Linked DNA regions of Homo sapiens: region 2 is linked to region 1. Evidence: promoter capture Hi-C in 16 types of primary human blood cells and fetal thymus (Javierre and others, 2016). All regions are on one chromosome and are shown on one strand. Each heading gives the region's core, a stretch centred on a gene start or on the middle of the fragment in contact. The rest is flanking DNA. Distances are from core to core; before and after follow the strand shown. Region 1 holds the start of KIF13A (kinesin family member 13A). Region 2 overlaps KIF13A (kinesin family member 13A).

What was found. Contacts are between HindIII fragments. The CHiCAGO score rates a contact against its expected background, and 5 or more counts as called.
Region 2: a fragment that was not itself captured here is called in contact with the fragment with the promoter of KIF13A in region 1 in 2 of 17 cell types (monocytes and neutrophils); the score reaches 7.7 in monocytes.

Annotation. Positions count from the first base shown.
Region 1 is chr6:17,986,181-17,989,300 of GRCh38, reverse strand. KIF13A (kinesin family member 13A) reads left to right here and starts at 1,666. Exons shown (of 39, transcript NM_022113.6): 1 at 1,666-1,892; 2 at 2,157-2,247. The coding sequence starts at 1,838. RefSeq lists silencers at 1,091-1,590, 1,961-2,080. The HindIII fragment of the contact is 11,131 bases long and covers 1-3,120 here.
Region 2 is chr6:17,931,932-17,935,309 of GRCh38, reverse strand. The region is part of intron 2 of KIF13A (kinesin family member 13A); the gene reads left to right. Among named protein-coding and RNA genes, the nearest start is that of KIF13A, 54 kb to the left of the region's middle. RefSeq lists a silencer at 955-1,139. The HindIII fragment of the contact is 2,077 bases long and covers 246-2,322 here.

The DNA of each region.
Region 1 (3,120 bases), core at 417-2,916:
CTCTACAATAAGGTGGGGCTGAAGTATTTGTCCTTCAGTGTACACAGGGGACTGGTTCCAGGAACATCCAAAACCATGCATACTCAAGTCCCACAGTCAGCTCTGCAGAACCCACAAATAGGAAAAGTTGGATCTCTCAGTTTTGAACCTGCCAAATACTGTCTTTTCTTTTTTCTCCCTTTTTTTTTTTGAGACAGGGTCTTGCTTTGTTGCCTAGGCTGGAGTGCAGTGGTGCGAACATGGCTCACTGCAGCCTCAACCTTCCAGGCTCAAGTGATCCTCCCACCTCAGCCTCTCCAGTAACTAAGACTACAGGCACCTGCCACCATGCCCGGCTATTTTTTAAATTTTTATGTTTGGCAAGATGGGGTTTCTTTACATTGCCCAGGCTGGTCTCGAACTCCTGGCCTCAAGTGATCCTCCCGCCTCGGCCTCCCAAAGTGTTGGGATTACAGGCGTAAGGCACTGTGCCAGAGCACGAATACTGTATTTTCAATCAGATTTTGGTTGAAAAAAAGCCACGTGTAAGTGGACTCGTGCAGTTCAAACCCGTGTTGTTCGAGGGTCAAGCGTAGCATCACCTCGGTTGGAGGCGGACGGACCCCTCTCCTAGCACCTGCCGTACACTGTCTAGCATAATAAGTCTCCACGCCCTCTCTTCCACCTTAGCGTGTGCCTCTGCATCATGCTATTCATGTTTCTGTGTGTCCTCAACAGCACCCTGCACACAGTAAAACCTCAATGCATCTTCCAATAAGTGGATTTCTAGATTTAAGCAAAATCGAAAGATTCCTGGATCTAAACTCTGGATTTTTGACTTCTGTACGCTTCAAAATGCCTGGCACTCGGTGAGCGCCCCTTAAGCACTTGTTGAACCAAACAGAATAAATCGGATTCGCCCAGTTCCGCCCTGGCAGCGAGGTCTGCATTTGGCAGGATGACAGAATCCATTGCTATTAAATTCTTATGTAAGAGTTAATGGCCCTCCCAGCCCACTTGACATCCCTCCCGAGACAAGAGAGGCCGGGAAAGGAAGGGAGAGCACTATTTACAAACATACACTGTTTCGGTGGTGGATTCACAGATTCATTTCTAGTCTCGGTTCACCACAGAGATCTTAAAATACCGCTGCAGGCTCCGTGTGGGACAGAGGGGGCGGCGTGCCGGGACTCGGAGGGGAAGGCCTGCGCACCCAGCGCGGCGAGCCGTGGTCCTTGCTGCCGTCCCGGGGCTCCGGGTGGCAGCGGCCCCAGAAGGCGGCTCGAGCTCACGGCGGTGTCCGGGGGGGGGCCCCGCGGGCGCCGGTGCAGGCTTGGCCTGGGAGGTCCCCTGGGGAAACAATGCGTCCCGCCCCGGACTCCAGCCTCCCCTAAGCGCCGCGCTGCTCGCCGCTCCTCTCACTGCCGTCCCGCCGCTCCAGGGGGCGCCGCGCGTGGCCGTGTCCGGCCTCTCCCGAGCCCCGGCGGGTGACGGGCGCGGAACATGGCGGCGCGGGGCCCCGGGCAGCCGCGAGGGGCCGCGGCGCTGCGGTCTCGGCTGGGGCGGCGCGGCTAGAGCTGCGCCTGGGCCCGCCGGCGAGGCCTCCTCCCCGCCCGCCGCCGCCGCCGCCGCCGCCGCGCCCCGCCCCGCGCGCCCGCCCCTCCCCGGGCCGCGGCCGTGCCCCGCGTCGCGCTCCCCCGGGATGGCCCGCGCGCCTCGGCGCTGCCTCTCGGAGCTCACGGCGGAGCGGCGGCGGCCGCGCTCGAGGGGCGCGCGGCTGCAGCGGCGGCGGCGCCGCGCGTGAGGGGCCGCCTAAGGCCGAGCGGGCGCGGCGAGCGGCCGGGCGAGCGCAGCCAACATGTCGGATACCAAGGTAAAAGTTGCCGTCCGGGTCCGGCCCATGAACCGACGAGGTGAGGAGCTTTCCGCTCTTTTTTATTTCTGCTCGGGCTGAGGGCGGGGGCAACTTTAGAAACTGCGGGGCCGGGACGGCGAGAGCGCGGCCGGGGCCGGGGGGCCGGGGCGGAGGCGGCGTCCGCGCTGGCCGTGGTGCCCGGGGCGCCGTCTCCAGGCTCGGCCGCCTCCAGGGACGGAGCCCCGCTCGGCGCGGCTGGCGGGCGGGCGGGCTGGAGGCGCGGATGCTGGACTTTGCAACGTCCCTTTCTCTCTGCTTTCAGAACTGGAACTGAACACCAAGTGCGTGGTGGAGATGGAAGGGAATCAAACGGTCCTGCACCCTCCTCCTTCTAACACCAAACAGGGAGAAAGGTAAAGCGGGTTCCGAGAGGGCGGCTGGGAGGATCCAGCCTCGCGGGGTCCCGCAAGTTTGAGCCAGGAAAATGGGAGTGCTCTTTCCTATTGTTAGGAGGACGGCTTCAAGTTTGTCGCCGGCTCCTGTTTGAAGCTGTTGCAAGTCCAAGTTCCTCTCCTCCCTCGCCCCCCTTCTCCTCCATCTAGAGCGGCGGCAGGCAGGGCACCCTGGCCACAGCACCAGTCAGCTGAGCCCGGGCGGGCTGCGAGGCACCCGGGAGGGAGAGGGCCGGATGGGACCCCATAGGTGATTCGTCCAGCGGCCACATTTTACAGACAGGAAAACTGAGGCCCGAGGCGGGCAGGTGACCAGCCCACGACCTTATTGTTCGTGGAACCCAGTGTCCGTGATTCTTTTCATCACTGCAGGGTTTGTTTCCTTTGGCAGAATTGTTTAGGGACAGTGTGTCTAAAATGGGAGGAAAAAATAAAGCAAAAGTCTTGTACGATGTAGACTCAGGCTGGACTAGTTAGTATCTATTTTAGTTGTTGTTGCTGAGTTGAGATAATGCCTCAATGTAATGCGCGAATTTTGATTTTCAAAGAAACAAAAGTAGGGCCCTGAACTGTATAGACACTGAGGGATGTTTAAAAAGGGGCTGTATTTACTAGATGGCAACATATTTGCATTTGAAAAGTGGTAACTGTTGGATCCTTATTAATTCCGTTCTGTTCCATGCAACAGTATGGGTTAACGCCCCAAAATAATTTGAATATTTGGCATTTTTCTAGTAAGCCTCTGAGAAGAAATCGGTTGGAATTCATTCAATATAATAATGCAGTAGCTTGTAAATATATATATGTGAAAAAACGGGAGAGTTTACAATATTA
Region 2 (3,378 bases), core at 35-2,534, 54 kb after region 1:
TCAGCAGAAATAGCTCAGGGCTTGAGCCTTAAACTGCCTATCCTTAGTAGGAATTATTCTTTGCCAAGGACAGTGTTTCTTCCAAGTCTGATTGTGACATTTATTCAGGACAGCTATAGAAAGCACAGATAAGAAAAAAATATTTCCAATCCCACTCATGAGAGAGAGAACCATTTTGGCCTTTTAGTATTCCTCCCCCTCCCCAGGTAAATGGTGAAAATAACACAACTAGCCAAAAATAAGCTTTTGTTATTAAATATTTATTTTGGGCCAACAAGTGAAGTTGCTGTTGCCCTTAGCGTGGTGGGAAGCCTGGAGCACAGGTGTAAAGGAACTTGCTTCAGGTATTGCAGTAATAAATCAATACAGGATCTGCCTCACTGCAAGGTAAAGGGACCCTTGTGAAACTGATATGTTTGGTTATTACTAGTGAAAATTGAGTCACATTTTACATTAGATGGTGGCCATATTTATGACAAACAGCACAAGAGTATTATTTTTAAGTGTCTTTTTTTTTTTTTTGGAGACAGGGTATTGCTTGGTTGCCCAGGCTGGAGTCAGTGGTGCAGTCATGGCTCACCACAGCCTCTACCTCCTGGGCTCAAGCGATCCTCCCACCTCGGCCTCCCAAGTAGGTGAGACCACAGGGATGTGCCACCATGCCCTGCTAATTTTTAATATTTTTGTAGAGACAGGGTTTCCCTATGTTGCCCAGGCTGGTCTCGAATTTCTGGGCTCAAGTGATCCTCTCTGCCTCTGTCTCCCAGAGTTTTGGGATTACAGGCATGACCCACGGTGCCTGGCCTTCGGCGTCTTTTTATTATGATATTATTGGGGATTCTGTATTTATGATTTTAGAATACTACCTGCTGGAATATTTCATTTGGCTTTTTAGCTTTGGGAGCATGTAGCATAGGGAGAGTTGAAAGTTCCTAATTAGGAATGGGATGGTGTTCAGCCGCTCTCGTCTGCACTTAAGCAACTGGTGTAGGTTTCTTTTCTTGCCTACCTGCAAGTGCACGCTACAAGCCGGGCCCTCTGCTCTGACCTCACACAGGTCACTTAAGAATTTGAAGAAGGCCAATGTCCTGTGGCCATTAGACAGTAGTGTGAGAGATGGAAAGAGGTGCCTTTTGTAATTACGAAGAAACTGTGTCCTGGTTTTTATGAAAATGCTTGTCTTTTTATTCTTTTCAACTTAAATGTTTACTTTTTCGCATTCTTCAAAAAAAAATAAAAGTTGACCCTAACGACACAATTTAGATTGAATTGAGTTATAAAAGGCAGCTTTCTTTATCTGTGAGAGAAAATATAACTTGAAATCCTATGTTTCCATAGTTACATTGCATTGTAATAAGATAAAAGCAGGACTAAGGGATATGTTTGAAAGGCGCTCCAGGAGCTGGCTGAGATAAATGTGATTATTAAGCCACTGTGCCAGGCTTTGGTGGGGAGCTAGGCAGGCAGGTCGAACTAGTTGAAATTTCCCATTAGAAGAAAGGCATTTCTAATGCTTTGTGTTGAAGGTAAAAGTGAACCACAGAAACACACTATTGCTTCTGCATTGGAAGTTTATATTTCACTCATACTTAGAATCAGAACTTGTTAAAGTAGTTGCTTTTGGAACTGTACATAATATTTTTCCCGTGTCAGGAAATCAATAAACTTAAAAAAAAATCTAAATTGTTGGTTTGATCATTCTGATTTCTACTCCTTCTTATGTCCCATTTAGTTAATTATTTTCTTTATTCAAAGAATACTGGAAGGCCAAAACATTGTGGCCCACACCTATAATCCCAGCACTTTGGGAGGCCAAGGCAGAAGGATCACTTGAGTCCAGGAGTTTGAGACCAGCCTGGGCAACATAGTGAGACCTTGTCTCTACAAAAAAAAAAAAAAAAAAAATGAGCTGGGTGTGGTGGTGCGTGCCAGCTACTTGGGAGGCTGAGGCAGGAGTATCACTTGAGCTCAGGAGGTTGAGGCTACAGGGAGCTCAGGAGGTTTCTAACAAAGAAAGATGCAGTTGGTATGCACTCTTTCTTGGTTAAGAGGAGAGATTGCCAACCAGTACATCTTTTATAGGTGCTGTAAAATCATGTTATACCTGCACTTTCTTGGGTTTCCTTTGTTCCCATCACTTGACAACTCTTAAATTCATGTTCTCCAGCCATTCTTTTCATTATTAATAGAAGAGAAACTGGGCCCAGGAAGGTTCAAGGATATGGCCGAGGTCACAGAGCCTTTCTCTTCTTTTAAAGAAACAATGATACACTTTAGATATTCTTATCTTACTGTGAATTAATTTTTTTTTCTAATTAAGCTTTTTGGGTGACCTTGAGCAAATGAAAAGCTTGACTTTTTCCTCTGCTTTACCGTATTGTGATTTCCTTGGGGTTGGCAGAGATTTGGAAAGGGATGTATTCCAGAACTGGAAAAATAATTTGGCCAAATTAAGCAAAATCTCCATGGGATGTTGGTGCCACTTACCCCAGTTTTTTTTTTTTTTCTTTCCATTCTCACAGACTTCCTCCTCGCTTCAACCCTCTCTCTGCTATCTGAGTCAAGGCCTCTGGCCTGCATACAAGCTGTAGGAGCTTGCATAGCGTTTCTGGAATCTGTACAGTAGTGCTGTGCTGTGGTGGGGTGGGGAGAAGGCAAATACAAGGGTGTTGAGGTGACAGTTCCGGTGTGTCAGATTGGTGGGTCAGAGAACTGTTTGCTCAGTGCCAGAATGTTGGAAAACAAAAGCAAGTTTCTAAGTAACCCCAAAATAGATTCACAGGCAGGATCAAGAAGCTAATGCAGATGTTCCTTATTTTTTAGAAAGAAGATCTAAAAGCCTTATGCAACTATGCAGAATTTCTAAAATGGATTTCATAAGGTCGCAACGTTACTAAATGACTTGTTTATTCAGCCAGCAATGCTTTAGTCTGGCTGACTCTTGGTGTTTAATTGCATTAGTTCTATGAAGCATTTTGTGATGTTGTTCACCGATGTACAAGGCATTCGGGCATACAATACAGTATTTATGCAATATTTAGGTGATTTTCAAAATATAAGCCTGGTGCCAAATATGGATGTAAAATTTTAAACAGTATGTCTACCATAACCCCATTTGGGAGGGGAAAAGTTATGTGTGTGTATCTGTGTGTGTGTCTAGCATGTGTCGGTGGTTCTCAAACTTTGACATACATCGGAGTCACCTGGAGGGCTTATTAAAACACAGATTGCTGTGTCTTCCCCTAGAGTTTCTTATTCAGTAGGTCTGCAGTGGGGCTCAAGCATTTGCTTTTCCAGTGAGTTTCCAGGTGATGCTGATGCTGTTAGTCTGGGGACCACAGTTTGGGAACCATTGTGGGGAACAGAAGCATAGAAACA